Linked DNA regions of Homo sapiens: regions 1, 2, 3, 4, 6 and 7 are each linked to region 5. Evidence: promoter capture Hi-C in 16 types of primary human blood cells and fetal thymus (Javierre and others, 2016). All regions are on one chromosome and are shown on one strand. The core of a region is centred on a gene start or on the middle of the fragment in contact, and the rest is flanking DNA. Distances in the headings are between cores, read along the strand shown. Region 1 overlaps MYCBP2 (MYC binding protein 2). Region 2 overlaps MYCBP2 (MYC binding protein 2). Region 3 has its middle 5.3 kb from the start of KCTD12. Region 4 overlaps MYCBP2 (MYC binding protein 2). Region 5 holds the start of RBM26 (RNA binding motif protein 26). Region 6 overlaps MYCBP2 (MYC binding protein 2). Region 7 overlaps MYCBP2 (MYC binding protein 2).

The links. Contacts are between HindIII fragments. The CHiCAGO score rates a contact against its expected background, and 5 or more counts as called.
Region 1: a fragment that was not itself captured here is called in contact with the fragment with the promoter of RBM26 in region 5 in 1 of 17 cell types (naive CD8 T cells); the score reaches 6.0 in naive CD8 T cells.
Region 2: a fragment that was not itself captured here is called in contact with the fragment with the promoter of RBM26 in region 5 in 1 of 17 cell types (total CD4 T cells); the score reaches 10.0 in total CD4 T cells.
Region 3: a contact is called between a fragment that was not itself captured here and the fragment with the promoter of RBM26 in region 5, in 1 of 17 cell types (total CD4 T cells). The highest score is 5.6, in total CD4 T cells.
Region 4: a fragment that was not itself captured here is called in contact with the fragment with the promoter of RBM26 in region 5 in 3 of 17 cell types (total B cells, total CD4 T cells and naive CD8 T cells); the score reaches 9.2 in total B cells.
Region 6: a contact is called between a fragment that was not itself captured here and the fragment with the promoter of RBM26 in region 5, in 1 of 17 cell types (total CD8 T cells). The highest score is 7.1, in total CD8 T cells.
Region 7: a fragment that was not itself captured here is called in contact with the fragment with the promoter of RBM26 in region 5 in 5 of 17 cell types (naive CD8 T cells, naive B cells, total B cells and 2 more); the score reaches 9.5 in naive CD8 T cells.

What each region holds. Positions count from the first base shown.
Region 1 is chr13:77,142,107-77,144,806 of GRCh38, reverse strand. It overlaps MYCBP2 (MYC binding protein 2), which reads left to right. Exons shown (of 83, transcript NM_015057.5): 49 at 247-362. Among named protein-coding and RNA genes, the nearest start is that of MYCBP2-AS2, 62 kb to the right of the region's middle. The HindIII fragment of the contact is 6,140 bases long and covers 1-2,700 here.
Region 2 is chr13:77,089,049-77,091,748 of GRCh38, reverse strand. MYCBP2 (MYC binding protein 2) reads left to right here. Exons shown (of 83, transcript NM_015057.5): 60 at 1,486-1,643. Among named protein-coding and RNA genes, the nearest start is that of MYCBP2-AS2, 9.2 kb to the right of the region's middle. The HindIII fragment of the contact is 1,450 bases long and covers 561-2,010 here.
Region 3 is chr13:76,890,333-76,893,032 of GRCh38, reverse strand. No RefSeq gene overlaps it. Among named protein-coding and RNA genes, the nearest start is that of KCTD12, 5.3 kb to the right of the region's middle. The HindIII fragment of the contact is 8,198 bases long and covers 1-2,700 here.
Region 4 is chr13:77,158,937-77,161,636 of GRCh38, reverse strand. All of the region lies in intron 44 of MYCBP2 (MYC binding protein 2), which reads left to right. Among named protein-coding and RNA genes, the nearest start is that of MYCBP2-AS2, 79 kb to the right of the region's middle. The HindIII fragment of the contact is 9,980 bases long and covers 1-2,700 here.
Region 5 is chr13:79,404,984-79,407,683 of GRCh38, reverse strand. RBM26 (RNA binding motif protein 26) reads left to right here and starts at 1,429. Exons shown (of 22, transcript NM_001366735.2): 1 at 1,429-1,980. The coding sequence starts at 1,910. It overlaps RBM26-AS1 (RBM26 antisense RNA 1), which reads right to left and starts at 1,375. Exons shown (of 7, transcript NR_038991.1): 1 at 1,207-1,375. RefSeq lists enhancers at 1,144-1,443, 773-1,764 and a silencer at 1,674-1,873. The HindIII fragment of the contact is 7,810 bases long and covers 1-2,700 here.
Region 6 is chr13:77,176,205-77,178,904 of GRCh38, reverse strand. It overlaps MYCBP2 (MYC binding protein 2), which reads left to right. Exons shown (of 83, transcript NM_015057.5): 35 at 951-1,157; 36 at 2,277-2,408. Among named protein-coding and RNA genes, the nearest start is that of MYCBP2-AS2, 96 kb to the right of the region's middle. The HindIII fragment of the contact is 1,385 bases long and covers 687-2,071 here.
Region 7 is chr13:77,072,016-77,074,715 of GRCh38, reverse strand. All of the region lies in intron 68 of MYCBP2 (MYC binding protein 2), which reads left to right. Among named protein-coding and RNA genes, the nearest start is that of MYCBP2-AS1, 2.1 kb to the left of the region's middle. The HindIII fragment of the contact is 1,241 bases long and covers 670-1,910 here.

The DNA of each region.
Region 1 (2,700 bases), core at 114-2,613, 2.3 Mb after region 5:
TTATTGTCTCACAGAAGAAAGAGGTGAGGTCATGATCACCTGAGAGTTAGGAAGAGAGGTGATGCAGGTTTGAGGTAAGAAAGAAGTGAAATTCAAGCATTTTGGAGAGTAGGCAAGCGTACTATGGCAGGGTGGTAGGATTGCCAGGAGGTATGCAAACAAATTAAATGTTTGCTGAACTATCGTAATGATGTTGACTGCTTAACCAAAAGTAAAATTTCCAATATCCATCTTATTTCTTTTCAGACCCAGTGAGAATATGCTGATCCGTGTCAATAATGATGGGACTTATTGTGCAAATTGGACTCCAGGGGCTATTGGACTCTACACTCTTCATGTTACCATTGATGGCATTGAAATCGGTATTTTCTTTAAAGCCATGAGCTACTACTTACTTCAAATAACTAGAGTCAAAATTATTTTTATCTTCTAGTTTTGCCCATTAACTTGCACTAGACATATGGATAGGTTTCATAACTTATTTGAGGCCTTGTTTTCTCTTTCATAATGAGTATTTAATTAGTGCATTAACATTTTGTAATAATTTCTGGTGTCCGCCCAGGCACTGTAGCCCTCATGACTCTCTCCCTCCATTTCCTGATGTTACTAGTCAGGTGTGCTCTCTTCCACGCTGCTGTTACCCTGTCTCTCCCCTGTGGGTGTGTCTGTGCCTCTCCTGACTGTGAGCAGAAAGCATTCATGTTTGGATCTTCCAGTGTAGCTCAGTGCCTGGCACATAATGACAGCAAATATGGATGAATGAATGCATTTTTAAATCGATCATTGTGTTAATCTGGGTTCTCCAGAGAGACAGAACCAATAGGATATCTATACAGTCATGTACCTCATAGCATTTTGGTCAGTGACGAACAGCGTATATAATGGTGGTCCTATAAGATTTTCCTGTACCTTTTCTATGCTTAGATATGTTTAGATATGCAAATCCTTACCATTGTGTTACAGTTACCTGCAGTATTCAGTAGGGTAACATGCTGTACAGGATTGTAGCCTAAGACCAATAGGCTGTACCATATAACCCAGGTAATCTGTACCATCTAGGTTTGCTTAAGTCCACTCTGATGTTTGCACAATGATGAAATTGCCTGGTGATTCATTTCTCAGAACATTTCCCCATCCTTAAGCAATGCATGTCTATATTAGATATATGAGAGGATTTATTAGGGAAATTGGCTCGCACAATTATGGAGTCTGAAAAGTCCCATTATGGGCCACACCTGCAAGCTGGAGATCCTGAGATGCAGGTAGCCTCAGAACCAGGGAAGCAGATGATGTAACTCTCAGTCTGAGGCCAAAGGTCTGAGAATCCAGGAGGGCCACTAATAATAAGTCCTGGAGTCTAAATGCTGGGGACCCTGGAGTTCAAATGTCAAGGGACAGTAGAGGAAGTGTTTATCCAAGCTCCAAAAAATAGAAATACATTCACCTCTCCTCTGTTTTTGTTTGCTCTGTGTCCCCAGCTGATTGGACAGCGCCTGTCCACATTGAAAGCAGATCTTCTCCACCTACTCCACTCACACTCACACGCCAGTCTTGTCTGGAAACACCCTCACAGACGCAAAAGTAATGCCTTACCAGGTTTCTAGGTATTCTTTAATCCAGTCAAGTGGACACCTAGAAGTAATCATCACAACCATTAACTTTGAAAAACATATTTCTTTTGTTTTAGGCATTAATCTTTTCTTTACTTTTAAACTGTCTGTATAATAGGATAACAAGGAGAAAACTCTAGTACTTATCAGTGTGAATTTCTTGTAACATTATTTTTCCTGATGCTCCTCAAGGAAAGGGGTTTCTGTGATCAGATAAATTTCGAAAACCTGGTTTGGGATGAGTATCTTTTATCTGAAATGCTTGGCACCAGAAGTATTCTAGATTTTGGACTTTTTCTGATTTTGGAATAGTTGTATTACAGTTACCAGTTGAGCATCCCTAATTCAAAATTTCAAAATTCAGAATGCTCCAGTGAGCACTTTTTTTGAGCATCATGTCAGCACCCAAAGGTTTTAGATTTTAGATCATTTTGGATTTGGGGTTTTCAGATTAGAGATGCTCAACTTGTATATGGTAGTCTCACTTGAGACATTCACACAATCTACATTAACATATTAGGGATTCTGAGAAGTTCTGAAATCAAGAAACTTGTCTGACTATGTTTAATCCTTATCGTGGGACCCCTTGCAAGTGGAGAAGAGAGAAACAGGGTGGAGATAGTAATAATACCAATTAATATTTCACCAAAATATTTGGGAAACCCTGCTTTAAGTAGTTTGCTTTGGCAGTGGAGGTAAAGAGGTACTTTACATTGATGTAATTGTATGTTCTCATACATTAATGTAACTATATAGACTCAGATATATCCAGTTCATCTGTACCATTCTAGAGACCTTCACCAGCAGCCTTTGCTGCACTCTTCTTTATTTCAATATATTCATAAAGCCTTTAGTTCAGCAAATGTTTTTTGGTTCTGAGCATACATTTTCCTGGGTAAGACAATTCCTGTCAAGTGTTAACACTTTAATGAGGATTGTGAAAATAAAACACGCAAACAAAAATCTTATGAAGTAGAATATAAGTAGTGACACACAAGACATACAAATTACAGTAGGAATTCGAAAGTAGAAATAGCCAAGAATGACATTGTGAAAATTTTCTTTTCTCTAAAAATTCTGGTAAAATTTC
Region 2 (2,700 bases), core at 36-2,535, 2.3 Mb after region 5:
CCCCTTCTATTTAAAAAAAAAAAGTTGATGAATAAATGAATTCATTAAATCAGTGGTTCTCAATTGAGGGTGATATTTGCCTCTCTGTTGACATCTGGAAATATTTGGAAATAACTTTGTCACAACTGGGCTAGTTGAGTGGGCATCCTAGTGAGTTGAGGCCAGGGATGTTGCTAACCATCCTACAGGAGGCAAGACAGCCTAACAAGGAATTACCTGGCTCAGGGTAGCCATTCAATTAAAGATGTCATCTTTGCTTTCTTCTTTGGATTTTCTTGTGTTGCTTGAATTCTTTCACAAGCAATTTTTTTTTTTTTTTGGTAAAAAGTCACTTTTTAAATTTGTGTAATTTTTTTTAAGTTAGTAGAAAACTTCCTCTGAAAACAGAACAAATGTCTGTGCTTTATAGTAACACCATATATAAAGTGAATTAAGTTAATGTTTCCCTGTATTCTAGTCATTCTGGAACCAAGCAACCTATACTAACACCCAGGGACATTTACTGCCAATCAGTTATGTACAGTATTTATAGTCTATTCAAACAAGAATGTACATAAGCTTAGAGAAGTGGTGAGTAAAGAAAACACCTAGGCAGTTAGCCGTCTATTAGAAAATAGATAATTTTACCAAGGGACACAGGATTTCAAACCTGGCTTGAATGATGGAAAAAACTCCAGAACCAACGGTGAGCAAAAATATTCCAATTTGAATTCAGGTGACAGAAAAAGGAGCTCACGAAAAGAATAGTTTCTAAATTTGTTTTAGAGAAATAAGAAAGAGAAGGGATTTCTCTTTTTTTATAAAATGTGTCAATAAAGGAAATTGTATAGCTCTCTTAATAACTTTGTAAGTATTTTTAAATGTTGCTTTAATAAATAGAAAAGCTGTTAGTTTACTTAAGCCTGAATAAAACCATTAAGTTCTTTTATAGAGTGTAAATACAACACTGGTGCCAAAAATCAGTTTGTTACCTCTCATGACACCTTGATGCAGCCATCCTCCAAGGGCTTTGGGCAACATTTCCCAAGAGTGAGAAACCTCACAGAACACTGAAGACACCAAAAGAAAACTTTGGAACCAAATTTTGCTTCCTGTTTTATTAGGTTTTCATGTGTACATATCCATTTTCTTTCTATTTGGTGCACTTACGATTATATCTGACTGTTTTTCCTGAATATTATGATACATGAATTCCACCCCAGTGCTTTTGATTCTAAAAGGAGCTTGGAAACCTTTCTTCTTTTTCATTTAAAATACAAAGTAGATTTAAGAAAACCATAAGTTTTAAGGTACAATGCTGAAATCAGTCAAAATGTTACTGCATTTGAAAAGATCAAATTATGATTTAAAGAGAGATTATCAATTTGGCTTTGATTTTGTTTCTCCACATGAAATATTGAGTCACATATTTTGCATCATTATAAGTATAGTTACATTTCATTCAGCTCTTCTGAGTTTGTATCTGTTGCATTGTTCCATGTACAGTTTAGAAACCAGTCCCATAACTGATACTGATCTTGCAAAGAGAACTGTCTTCCAAAGATCATACTCAGTTGTTGCTTCCGAATATGATAAACAACACTCCATTTTACCTGCACGAGTTAAAGCTATTCCTAGAAGAAGAGTTAACAGTGGAGACACTGGTAAGTATGAGGATAAAAAAGAATATTGAGTGATCTGACTACTACAAATAAAAAAATTGTTTTATTTGCATATAATTTTTAAAATTTAATTTTTGAAGGAAAAGGCATGGGATAATTTCTAATGTGTGATTGACATTCCTTCTATATGACATAGCTATAAATGTGCATCTCTAAATTTTGCATCTTAGTTGAAGGGAAATCTGGAGATCATTCAGTGATTGTTCGAGAATAAATTGACCTTTACAATCTTACTTGTTAGGTATCTAAGCCAAATGTTACAACCATTATCCCTTCCACTAAACTTTTGTGGACCAGGAGTTCCAATGACGTACACATTCACAGTTATCTCTCCACCCCAACTGAAGCTTGATAACTCTTGGAGCTGCCATCATTCTAAGTAGATAATAAAACTTTGGGGATATAAATAGCCCTTAATCGATTTAAAAAAAAAAAAAAAACAGTTACATGATCTGGACCAGTTGGTATCAACAGCCCCAAATTGGAGCTGGGGATTCTACCTCAAGAATAATTTTAAAAACCCAAGAAGAACAGGGTAATATAGTGATCAATTATCAGAGAGATCACTTGCTAAAATGAAGATTTGGCCTAAAAATTATAGTCAGATGATTAAGTTATCTTACTGAAGACTTTTAAGAAAAACATTATTGAAGATTGTCCAGCAATTTATAGGTTCATTCAACAAATATTTTTGACCTCCTGTTAAGAAATGTTTCTTATAAAGCCATCTTTTAGAAAATGATGCAGATGAGATGTAGATTTCATTTAGAGAAAATATAAATCACTTAGCTTTTAGAGTGTTTTAGAAAAGGTGAACTTTAGATTCAGCTCTGATTCAAAACCCACCTCTACAACTTAATAGCTATATGACTTTCAGAGAGTAACATATTTAATCTTTCTGAACCTTGGTTTCCTCAGTAAAAGTTGAAATTGTTATGATTTGTGTCATGTTCAAAAAACCAATGACAAAGGCTTTAAGTGAATATATTAGATATTATTATCTTAAATATATATGCACTGCCTATGAAAATTAATAATT
Region 3 (2,700 bases), core at 179-2,678, 2.5 Mb after region 5:
CACTGCATCCCAGCCACCTGAGAGGAGGTGTGAGTCACCTAACCTTTTTGAGTTTCTTTCTTCATTTGGAACACAGGTTGGTTAACACCTCACAAAATTGTGATAATTAAGTCAACCTGACAATATGAAAACACTCGAAACAGAAAAACACTAGAATGTGATTAGAATGTGATAACTTATATATAGTTCCTCTCTAAATTTAATATCATGATTGGAAACCAAGACTTTCAAATTCTTATGAAACATCAGTGATGTTAATAATTAGTCTTAGTCAGAAGTTCCAGAATCACTCAAGTGATGAGGGCCAGCTATTTTTGTGTTCAGTTTGATATGCAAAGCCACAAGTAGAATGCACTTGTTCAATTTTATGAGCCCCAGAAGACCAGTGGATACTGCTTGCTTTGGGAAACTGGAACCTAGATCTCAGCAGTTTCCATGGATTCACTTTATCCTTGTCAAGAGTTAATGAGATCAGAATAAAGCCAAATGAACATGCTAGGAACTTGGTGCTTTGCAAACCGTAATGATATTTGAGAGAGCCAGAAATAAAATCTTGTTTATTTTGTGTACAGGACTGAATTAGGGAAAGATTAGGACAATAGTGTGTCAGTTCTATCCAGGGGCTCAAATAGAGATTCTTATTTGGGTAAAAGTACACATGGATACAAGGAAGGGAACAATAGACATTGGAGCCTACTTGAGGGTAGAGGTTGGATGGAAGGTGAGAATCCAAAAACTACCTATCAGGTACTATGCTTATTACTTTGGTGATGAAATAATCTGTACACCAAACCCCTGCGACGTGCAATTTACCTGTGTAACAAACCTGCACAGGTACCCATAAACCTAAAATAGGTTGGAAGGAAAAAAGAAGGCAGAAAGAAGAAATAAGGGCCAAGGACTTGACTCTTTCTTAACCCTAGTTCTTTCAGGGTGGCTACTTTGAGTTTCTGGTTACCAGTACTGCGGAACACAAGCACGTAGACTTTAGAGTAGCATTTCTGCCCCCAGCAGAGATAAAGAGCTGTGTTATCTTGGTCAAGTTACCTTACTTCTCTTTGCCTTGGGTTTCTCATCTGTAAAGGGGGAAAATAATATAACTTACTTCTTAATACATGTAAAGCACTCCTAGAGGAAAGGGGATTTAAAATGCAGTGTTTAAAAGCACAGATTCTAAGGCTACACTGCCTGGGTTCAAATCCCAGCTCCAGCACCTATTTGCTGTATGATCTTGGGAAAATTAGTTCACTGTGCCTCAGTTTCTCATCTAAAACTTGGGTAATAGCACCAACCTCATAAAGTTATTGTTAGGATTAAATGAGTTCATACATGTATAGTTCTATAAATAGGGCTGGCTCATAGTAAGTACTCTATACATGCTTGTTATATTATTTGTTTCCTGGATAAGCTCCAAACACCATCTTAAGGGTATAGAAATATCAACATTGTTAACTTTTGTTTCTTTGTTTGGTTCTATAAATCATAAAAATCATACTCTAGAGATAATCATACAATGTTGGGATATTCTTTACTGTCTAGACCTGTTTTTTTTTTTTGTTTGTTTTGTTTTTTGAGATGGGGTCTCGCTCTGTTGCCTAGGCTGGAGTGCAGTGGTGCGACCTTGGCTCACTGCAACCTCTGCCTCTCAGGTTCAAGCAATTCTCCTGCCTCAGCCTCCTGAGTAACTGGAATTTAGACCTAGTATTTTGGCAGTGTACCCTATATAACATTTTGTTCTCTTTTCTTCAGGTTAAATATTGTCACATCTTTTACCAAATCTTTATTAAGATCATTTTGCCTCCGGATTCACTTAATGTTATTCAATTAATCTCTCCTTCTAAATGCAAAAAGTCAATGACTTCTAAAGCCTGCATGGAGAAAAGATTCACACATATTAGGAGGATGACAAATGGAATAAATATTTATTCAGGATAATTTCTGATTCTGCCTCTCTTCCCCTTTCCCCATAGTGTTCATTTTAATGTTTCTGCCATTCATTTGTTCATTCAGTATTTATTGGGAAGACTTGTCAAGCACCATGATAAGTGGTGGAAAATAATGATTCTGACACTTGAATGGTGTTTTACAATGTACAGATCATTTTCACATATATTAAATTCATTCAATTCTCAAAGGCACTCACTTCATTTCACCAGTTCTTCCTCCCCTTTAACTTTATATTTCTCTTCATGTTCCTCATTCCTTTCCTTAAATCTTTGGTATGCAGAATACAGTAGTCTCCTTTCATACAAAGGGTATACATTCCAAGACCCTCAGTGGGTGACTGAAACCGTAGGTAGTACTGAACCTGATTGCTGTCCATTGGAACATGTTTCTCTTCATGTCTTCAATCCACAAGTTTAATGCCTTTTCCATTTTCACTACACACTTATCATGCACTCTGTGCCATACGTTTTGTGTTTGGAGGTGTGACAGCAAAACTAGCACAAATTTTTCCTTCATAATTTCACAGAAATTTCACAATGTCTACATTCTTATCATAGATCTTAGCAACCTTGGGATGTAACTTTTTTTTTCTTATTAAATTGAGAACTTTCACCTTTTCACTTAAAGGCAGCATTTTATGGCTTCTCTTTGGCATATCTGAATTGCCAGCATCACTACTCTTGTAATTTGTGGCCATTTATTAAGTAAACTGAGTGTTACTTGAACACAAGCACTGTGATAGGGTGATACTAA
Region 4 (2,700 bases), core at 45-2,544, 2.2 Mb after region 5:
TGGCTTGCAGAACTGTGGCCATTTAAATTGCATCTTGAAAGAATTTGTTTTTCTTTTTTTGCCTGCTAGAGAAAGGGGAAAGACATTTCACAAAGGATGTATAGTTGTGTTATAAGAAGCAGCAAAAGGTGAGGTTGGTACAGTTGGTGAGCTCAGTCTGTGACAAACCAGTATGTCATATTAAGTGGTTAGGGCTAGTTGCCTGTAGACAATTGGGAGCCATCATTTGTTGTTTTTATTATTGTTTGCTTTACCTTTTTTGCTCGTTTAGGCATTAACTAGCACATTTGGCACTGAATGGAAATACATGAGTACTATATTTCAGTGCAATACCCCCTTTGGATCTGTTACGTCAACCTAATATTTCTCAAAATTGCCTAGAGATGACTACATTGTTTTCTTACTTCATTAGTCTGACTTCAGCTAGCTAGTAATCTGTAATAGGATGGAAATATCAGAATCTGTAGACAGCATTTGTCAAATTGTAATACCTACTTAGGCCAAACCAGAGTTTCTGATGTACTGCTAAGTGAGCCCCATTGGATACCACACACTGAGAACATCAGTGATGGGGAAAATTTTGCATCTAGCAATGGTGTGAAGATAGAAGAAAAGTTGAGAGTCTCTCAACTGGATCAGTGTTACTCAGACCCTAGGATGTGATAGATTTGTAAAATTTTCCAAAAATATTTTTCCTGAGAACTTATTAAGTAAAAACACTCTTTAAAAATGTACTACTTTTTATCAGCAATGTCTTATAAAATAAAAGACATTTTAATAGCCCCAGATGGAAAGGTCTTAGAATGGAAGACTCTGTTATAGCCTTAGTTTTTCTAATTCTGCCATGGATCAGAGAACTTTGGGCCCACATTTGGAAAACACCAATTTAGATCATACTTATTTTCTATACTAGGTATATGTAGTTAGTAATAGTGATTTAAATAATATCTGTAGAGCACTTCATAGGTTTCAGCATCTTTAATATTATCTCTCTGTTTTTATAATTACACTTCGAAATCAGTATTAGGTCTTGCATCTTACAATTATAATAACTGAAGTTCAAAGAAGTTTTGTGACTTCTTGAAGACTCAGAAGGGAAACAAAGGCTGGTACCCAGACCTTGTAATTGTGAAGGCTAGTGCTTTACATTTTACTTATTTCCTGAGGTGAATTAATCAAAGCGGTAATAATGAAAACATTTATTTCATCTTTGTCAAGCACTATTTTAAACATTTTGTGCATTTTTAACTCCCCACAGCAACCCAATGAATTAAAAAGTTTTATCTCCATTTACAAATGAGGCATAGAGCATTTAGGCAGTTCGCCCACGATCATACAGCTAGTGAGCAACTGCACTGGGATTTGTTCGCTGGCAGTTTGGTGACAAAAGAAACCCCGTCTCATTAGCTGGGCGTGGTGGCGCATGCCTGTAATCCCAGCTACTCAGGAGGCTGAGGCAGGAGAATCGCTTGAACCCGGGAGTCGGAGGTTGAGGTGAGCCAAGATCATGCCATTGTACTCCAGCCCAGGCAACAAGAGTGAAACGCCGTCTCAAAAAAAAAAAAAAAAAAGTTTGTGATTTTGAACACTGTCTTCTGATCATAGGGAGCTGTAGTGTTGTCAATAATGTTAAGAAACGTCTGAGTTTTAAAAAGCCATTGGCATCTTATGTGTATTCCTTTTTTAAAGTTAAATCTTTGTACCTTAAGATTCAAAATAAAAATAAATTCAACAGATATATAATAAACAATATGTGTCAGGCAACATTCTAGGTGAAGGAGAACTATCAAAGAGTTTCTATTAGTCCATTTTCACACTGCTATAAAGAACTACCTGAGGCTGGGTAATTTATAAAGAAAAGAGGTTTAATTGACTCACAGTTCCCTACATGGCTGAGGAGGCCTCAGGAAACTTACAATCATGGCAGAAGGCAAAAGGGAAGCAAGGCAAGTCTTACATGGCAGCAGGAGAGAGAGAAGGGGAAAGGCCTACACACTTATCAAACAACCAGATATTGTAAGGAAAACAGCAAGGGGGAAGTCTGCCCCCATGATTCAGTCACCTCCCGCCAGGTCACTCCCCCAACATGTGGAGATTTATAATTCGAGTTGAGATTTGGGTGGGGACACAGAGCCAAACCATATCAGAGTTCATATATGGTTTATAATTTCAGGGATTATTATGGTATATAAGGTGTCATCTAGACCAGATATGGAGAGATCTTTATTATGTTATTGTTCAAGAAAAAAAAAAATGGTGTCCCAAATTGCCTCTTTTTGGCATGTAAGGTAGTTATTCTGATAATCTAACATGTATTAAACACTTACTATTTGTTAGGCAATGTATTATATACTTTATATGCATTATTTAGTTTGAATTTTTTAACTGTGTAAGAGAGATTATTTGATGACCAGTTTATACATTTTACAGATTCAGGGATGGTAACTTTTTAGCTTAAGAGCACACAGCAAATAATTTGTCCAAAGCCAGGATTTGAATTTAAGTCTATTTGATTCCAAAGATGATTATTTTTGAAACTGTATAATTTCAAATTTGATAGTACTAGAAATGTAATTATTTTCTATGAAAAAATCTTACTGGAATTTATTTTATAGTCAGTAAAAAGTTTTCAGAGTTCCAGCATTTAAAACAAGTCTCTCCAAAAACATAAGACTTGCTTGTCAGATAGGTGAAACCTAA
Region 5 (2,700 bases), core at 180-2,679:
TACAACAAACAGACTAAACAAATATAATTTTAACTTTCGGCAGTATTAAATTTATAAACAATTTTTATTGTAAAATACATATAAAACCTACCGTTTTCATTAAGTATATGGTCCACTGCATTAAGTACATTCATATTGTGCAACCCACACAACACCACTCATCTCCAGAATCTAAATCATCCTAAACTGAAACTCTATTATCCACTGAAATATAACTCCTCATTTCCCCTTCTCCTGGGCACCCTCTCCACCCCTGCTCTTGCTACCATTCCACCTTCTGTCTCTAGGAGTTTTGACTACTCTAGGTACTTAATGTAAGTGGAATCATAATATTTGTCCTTTCATGTCTGGTTTATTTCACTCAGCTAAATCACTTTAATCAACACCCTGGTTATTCAGTAGCTGGATTCTAATTTGTATTCTACTCTATATGCTGTATTTTAAAACAAATGTCTTGCTTTGTAGTTCATAATCTTTCCACCTAATCCTTAAAGACACTTCACTCTAGCAAATTATAAACTCAAGAGTTCCTAAGAACAATTTAGCCTATCGGTGTCTCTCATAAAGAGCTTTTATTGATCTACTTACTGAAAATGTCTTTAGATTGTGAATATTTTCATTCCATTACAGTTCATGGAACGTAGACCCTTTGTAAAATTCCACCTAGTATCTAAATAGAACTCAAGCAGGAATCAAACTTATTTGATCACCCAGGAAAATAGTTTATTTATTTGGGTTGCTAATATGAAGACTCTCTCTTTTGATACTATATAATTTCCCGATCTGAGATAGGGCTGAATTTGCTCTAAATAAAGAGAATTTTAAAAATAACAAAACTTATCTTTAGCTGGGGGAAAGTGCAGGCTGGAAACTACCTGAGAGACGTGAAGGTTCTCTCACCTTTCCCTTGTGGGCAGCCCTCAGTCATTAGGGCTCTACCAGCAAGTCAAGTACTGTTGGACAAGACACTAATCCTCTGGCGGTCTCATTGGGCTCCATTAGACCAGCCTGTGTTTACAAACCTCGTTCACATCACAGCATACACAGAATATGATACTGGTAGGGCACTTAGGTAAACTGAGGAGGTAGTGTGCTCGGCACCTGGAACCTACGGGCCGCCTGGTGTCGCGCACGCGGGAGTGTACGCTCTCAAAGAGCGATCCATCCGGCAGGACCGTTCCAGCTGACAGGCCACGGCCGTCTTACCGGGGACGAGCTGGGGTTCCCGCTGTTTCTGAAGTCAGCGGTCTTTTCCTCCTTGTAAGAAATAAGGTCTTTATATCATAAAGGTAAGCAAAGAATAAAAAGGCACAAAGGCCGCAAGCAACGCACACACGCAAAAATCGAACTACAGCACTCGACCCGCGCATTCTCCGCCGACCTTACGTCTCTCCCAGCAGGCTCCGGGAGCCACCGCGAGACTTCATCAATTCTCGCGAGATTTACCGGCAGCCATCTTCTTGGGGGTGCTGGGAGCCGGGAAGACCCCCTGAATCGTTCCCATTGAGCTGCCCTTCGCCTTCGCTTTCTTTACTTTTGCCTTTTCGACGTAGCCAACAAGCACCTGGTCCCGAGGCTGAGAGAAGGCTCGGGTCTAAGCGCGTGTCGCGCTTCCGGTCTGGGTAGATTTGCTGGGGAAGAGGGAAGGGGGAGGGCCCGGGCAAACCGTTGCTGTTTCAGCCCGGGCTGGGGGCCGGGGACGGGGAGCTCCTGGCACCCCGTGCACTTGTGGCCTGCGGCGGTCCTTGCAGAGCTGTTCGCCGACCGGGGCCCGCGGGAACCTGCCACCGGCGCCTCCCACCGCGGCCCACGCGGGCGGCGCGCGGAGGAGGGGGCGGGGGCAGCGGCGGCTGTAGCGGCCGCGACCTGGGCGGGCGGAGGAGTGTGACGGGCCTTAGGGCCGCTGTGGATGGTTTCTAAAATGATCATTGAAAACTTCGAGGCACTCAAGTCCTGGCTCAGCAAGACTCTCGAGCCCATGTGAGTATCCGGGGGATATCTCTTTGCAGGGATGGCAGTGGGAGATAGGCGGACCCAGAGATCTGTGCAGTTTCCCCAAGTGCCTGCGGTGGAGGCCGAAGCGGTGAACGGAGGTCCCAGGGTTCTGTGGCTTCTCCTCCTCGTCCACCTCGCTTCCAGATTCAGGATACCCCCGAGAGCCTGAGTCGAGCTTTATTTTATTGCTGAGCTGCTCTCGTTTTCCCGTTATATATAGACCGTCTCCAACCCCCACCCGCAATATTTTCCGGGGGCCTCAAAATCGGTTTATTTTAGTGAAACCGACTGTATTTTACTTCCTACAGATTATTTTACCTTGTTTTTCTAAATGAAGTAGACGGCCTTTATTGGGGATTCGGGCAGTTCTAGCTTAAATCACTCACGTTTCACCTAAATATAATTCCTGAAAGCAAGGCCACGTCTCCCATGTGCTGTCTGGCTCATCTGCACCTCTCTTCACTGATTGAAGATGTAACAGGTGCTGAGGTGGCCAGTAAAATTCCCCTTTCCCGCCTACGCGTTCGTTAGCTTGGAGAGGAGGAAGAAAATTGAATCTTCATCCATATGGAATATTTAGCAGTTTTAAGTGGGATGCTATAGATAGATTTTGTGTTGGGGGCTGCGGTTAGAGTGCTGAAATAGTCTTAGATTGGAAAATTTAAGGAGTGTTTTGACGACTTGTTAATACAAAATATGACATGG
Region 6 (2,700 bases), core at 130-2,629, 2.2 Mb after region 5:
ATACTCTGCAGGATGCAGGAAAGTCTATAATGTGTAGATCCCCTTCCAAAGTTTACTAAAGAGTTCTCCCCTTTAAACTTACCTTTCCAATGAAAAGGAATACCAAAAGTTACAGGGTGCCTGGTATACAACTTTGGGAGTTCCCACAGGTCCTGGCTTAGAGATGAATATTTCTTTCTCAGAGAAGTTTGCAATTTTTGTTAGAATCATAAACTTCCATTTTTGTATCTATTTAGTCTCCCAAAATTCTGTAGCCAAGTTAGATTAGAAGTAGGCTTTGTAAATAAAAAGAGCGATTTCAACCCAAAGTAAGTTCTCTAATTCTCTCTAGTGAAAGTCTATAATTAGTATAGTTGCACATGTGTATGTGTACGTATTCAAATACTGAATGCTGTTACAAAAATATCACTGTATATATTCGTAGTATTCAATCTTAGGGTATAGACCATTTTCTTCAAATGAAGTTTTACTTGCAAATTCACAGGTAAGAGGAGAGAGGACATAGTCTGGTTGAAGAGGGGAACCATAAATTTACCTCTTCCTTGCACACCTATCTCTGCAGAATTTCTAGAGCTCTGTGTTGCATAGTTTGAAAACTGTTGATCTATAGAATTTCGATGAAATTTTTAGCATCTCTTTTCAAAGTCTGATGATTTATTCATACATTATGACTGATAAGACAAGCTTGTACTTCTGACATTATAAATTAAGTGGAAAGTATAGTTTCATATGGCTAAAGGAAGAAAATACTGTCAAGTGACATTGATTTGTGAATTTAGAATGATAAAATCTGGTTTTATTGTGAGTTAATCTCTCAGTAGAACATACCTTTAGGAATGTTTATATCCACTTATTAAATAAAGGTTATTTTATTAGACTTCTTAGAAACCTTTGGATGGTTTTGTTAAAGGTATACCAACTACTGATACAATTGCTTTTATTGTTCACAGGTTGATGGACTTAATTCTCTTCACTCTGTAAAAGCTAGTGCTAACCGATTTACAAAAACAAGTCAGGGCAGAAGTTGGAACACTGGGAACGGGTCCCCTGATGCAATCTGTTTTTCAGTAGACAAACCTGGAATAGTTGTGGTTGGTTTCTCTGTCTATGGAGGAGGTGGAATTCATGAATATGAATTAGAGGTGTTGGTTGATGATGTAAGTATCACCCTTTTAGTATTTATCCTGATTAGTGGGTTGTGTATCAGGATTTACCATTGTCATAGTATGTTCAGGGGTTTACTAGATCAATCACTGATGAATGACACTAAAGAAATTGAAAAAGACTGGCCACAGTGGCTCACACCTGTAATCTCAGCTCTTTGAGAGGCTGAGGCAGTTGGATGACTTGAGCACAGGAGTTCAAGGCCAGCCTAGGCAATATGGCAAAACCCTATCTCTACGAAAAATACAACGCACGCCTGTAATCCCAGCTACTCTGGAGGCTGGGGTGGGAGGATCACTTGAGCCCGGGAGGTTGAGGCTGCAGTGAGCCATAATCATGCCACTGCACTCAAGCCTGGGCAGCAGAGTGAGACCCGACCCTGTCTCAAAAAAAAAAAAAAAAAAAAGAAAGAAAAGAAATTGAAAAATAATGATTTTACCTGATTGTTTGTGTTCCATCTTTCCACCTTGGGTCACTACTGCTTCATATTTTTTGTACTTTCAGAAAGAGAAAGATTTAAAGTAGAATTAAAGACTAAAAGTGTTTAGCTAAGTCCCTGATGACAAGTCTTGAGTAGTTTTTTTTTTTTTTTATATTGTCATTTTTCAAGAAACACAATGTTGAGATGGACTATGTCATAGAGTACTAATGGGTGATTCTTAGTGAAGACACTATTTGTTGACTGATTGAGCTATATCTTTCTATATTCTCTAAAATTAAAGTACCTGAGTTTTATTAAAATGGGACAGATGGGGTAGCATGTAAATCATTGCCTATTAAATAGCAAGTCTATCTCTATCTCTAACTTGATTCCTTTCACTAGTTAATTTGAATTTATTCCCTACTTCATTAGGCTTTATAAATGTGAAGAAGTAGAAATAGTTTAAGTCATCAGATGAGAAAAGCTTATTTATGTTGTAGTCTTCTCAAGAAATCACATAAAAATGTATATAGTACCCCCAACTTTTTCTTTCATATGTATGGGAAAATACTAATGGCTAATTTTATATTCAAGAAAATAAATTTTAAAAATAATAATTATAAATCAAAATTGTTCATACAATAAAATTAAGAGTCTGTTGGAATTTTTGTGTTTCATTTTTTTTTTTTAGAGTGAACATGCAGGAGATTCAACTCATTCCCACAGATGGACATCTCTGGAATTAGTGAAAGGAACGTACACAACGGATGACTCACCCAGTGATATAGCTGAGATCAGACTTGACAAAGTGGTTCCTTTAAAGGTAGTTTCAACTGAATGTTTCTATTGTGAATAAGAGGTATTATTATGTAGTTAAAATAGTGAAGAGTATTCCATGAATTTTGTTTGTTACCTATAGCTATTTGTAAGTTATCCTTTATATGGTACTTAAATATTTATGGAGTACCTACTACGTACCTAATGTTGTACCACATTATATTATATTTTTGCATAATGTTTCTTAAAGTCAGGAGTAGTAGGAAGTTTTGTAGTCAAACAGACTTAGCTTTGGATACCTGCTGTTCCACATGCTGACTTTAAGACACTGGCAGATC
Region 7 (2,700 bases), core at 41-2,540, 2.3 Mb after region 5:
TATCCATGTTGTAGCATGTAGCCATGGTTCATTCTTTTGGTTGCTGAGAAGTGTTCCATTATATGGATTTACCGTAATTTGTTTATCCTTTCATTTTTTGATGGATATTTGGGTTGTTTCTGCTGTTTGGCTACTATTAGTAAAGCTGCTGTGAACACTCACATACAGATCTTTGCAGGTCTTTTACCAATTATGTGTTTTCAAATATTTTCTCCTAGTCTGTGTCTTATCTTTCAGAGAACAGAAGTTTTTAAGTTTGATAAAGTCCAGTTTTTTCTTGTTTTTTTGATTCATGATTTTTATGTATGGTCTAGAACCCAAGGTCACACAGATATTCTCTTCTTTTCCTTTAGAAATGTTATAGTTTTAGTTCTTTTCTTTAGAACTGTATACATTTTAATTTTTATGTGCAGTGTAAGAATTGAGGCTTATCTTTTGCATATAGATGTTCAATTGTTCTACTACGATTCATTGAGAAGACTATCATTTATCAATAGTCAATTTACCATAAATGGTAGGTCTGTTTCTGGACTCTATTCTGCTCCATTGATCCATCAAAGTGTCTTACTTACTGTAGCTTTATAAAAAGTCTTGATATCAGGTTCTAACTTTGTTCTTTATCTAAGTTATTTTGGCTATTCTAGATCTCTTGCATTTCCATATAAAGCTTAGAATCAGCTTGACCGTTTCTTTAAAAAAAAAAGGGGGGGGGGCGGTGGGGATGGAATTTTGACTGGAATTAACACCAAATTGATAGTTTAGGGAGAATCGCCATGTCAATAATATTGAGTCTTCGTATCTGTGAACATGATATGTATCAGGGGTTTTCTTACATCTGTTTAAAATTTCTCTCAGCAGTGTTTTGTAATTCATTGTACACATCTTGTACATATTTTATTAAATTTATTCCTAAACATTTAACATTTGTAAAGCTATTGTAAATGGTATTTTTTATTTCACTTTCCAATTGTTCATTTCTAGTGTATAAAAATAGAATTGACTTTTGTATATTAGATTTCTACCCTGTGATCTTAAATTCACTTACTAATTTCAGAAACTTTTTATAGACTCTTTGGGGTTTTCTTAGATAATCATGTAGTCTTCAATAAATTTGGGTTTTTTCCTTTCTAAACTATATGCCTTAAATTTCTTTTCTTATATTATTGTGTTATTGCATTGATTAAGCCCTTAAGCGCCATGCTGAATAGAAGTAATGAGAACAGATAGCTCTGACTTGTTCTGGATCTTGAAAAGAAAGTATAAACCATTCATTATTAAGTGTGATGTGAACTGTAGATTTTTTGGGGGTGAATCTTTTTAATAAGATTGGAGAATGTTTTCTTCTATTCCTAGTTTGCTGAGAATTTCTATCAGAATGGATTCTTTTTTAAGAGACCTGGTCTTAACTCTGTCACCCAGACAAGAGCACAGTGGTACCTTTATATGTTTCTCTTTCTTCATTTCTTTTATTCCGTAAGATAATCCATATATTGCTATGCATTTTAGTCAACATGTGATACTAGCTTGTATACAGTTCATTTTCCTTCAGTGAAAAAAAAAACTAGGGGATGGTAGCTACATGATATAGTGCTTCTTTTAGAAGTAATAAAAATGCTGTAATATTGACTGACGACGATAGTTGCACATATCTGAATGTACTAAAAACCATTGAATTCTATGCTTTAAACAGATGAATAGCATGGTATGTGAACTATATCTCAATAAAGATGTTTTTAAAAAGCAAAAATAAATGATGAAAGAGGTAAACAAGATGAAAGAACTATCTAAAAGAGACTCATATATAATCTAACTAGTACTTAAGTAGCAAAATAAATGCTCTATTCTAAAAATTCACTTTCTTTAATAGATAACAGAGCTGTTTCAGTTATCTGTTTCTTTTTGGGTAAGCTTTAGTAGTTCTGACACTCAAGCAATTTGTCCATTTCATCTAAGTTTCTGGATTTATTGCCATAAGTTGTTCATAATATACCCTTATGTCTTTTTAATATCTGTAGAACCTGTAGTGATGTGTCTTGGTGATTTGTGTCTTCATTCTTTTTTTCTGAAATAGTTTCTCTAAAGATTCATCAGTTTGATCTCTTCAGAGAACTAGCTTTTTGTTTCATTGATTTTCCTCTATTTTTGCTTCTTTTAATAATCACAACTTTATTTCTTTCCCTATGTTTGCCTTGTATTCATTTGTTCATCTTTTTCTGACTTCTTAAGGTCCAAGATCAGATCGTAGACTCCAAGACCTTTCTTTTCTCATCTAAGTATTTAATGCTATTATTTTCTTCTAAGCACTACATTAGCTGCATTTCACAAATTTGGGGTATTCTGTTTTTATTTTCATTCAATTCACAATGTTTTCTTAGTTTTCTTATTCCCATTTGATTTCTTTTTTTTTTTTTTTTTCTTTTTTTTTGAAATGGAGTCTTGCCCTGTCGCCCAGGCTGGAGTGCAGTGGTGCAATCTCGGCTCACTGCAAGCTCTGACTCCTGGGTTCACGCCATTCTCCTGCCTCAGCCTCCCAAGTAGCTGGGAGTACAGGCGCCCGCCACCATGCCCAGCTAATTTTTTGTATTTTTTTTAGTAGAGATGGGGTTTCACCACGTTAGCCAGGATGGTCTCGATCTCCTGACCTCGTGATCCACCCACCTCGGCCTCCCAAAGTGCTGGGATTACAGGCGTGAGCCACTG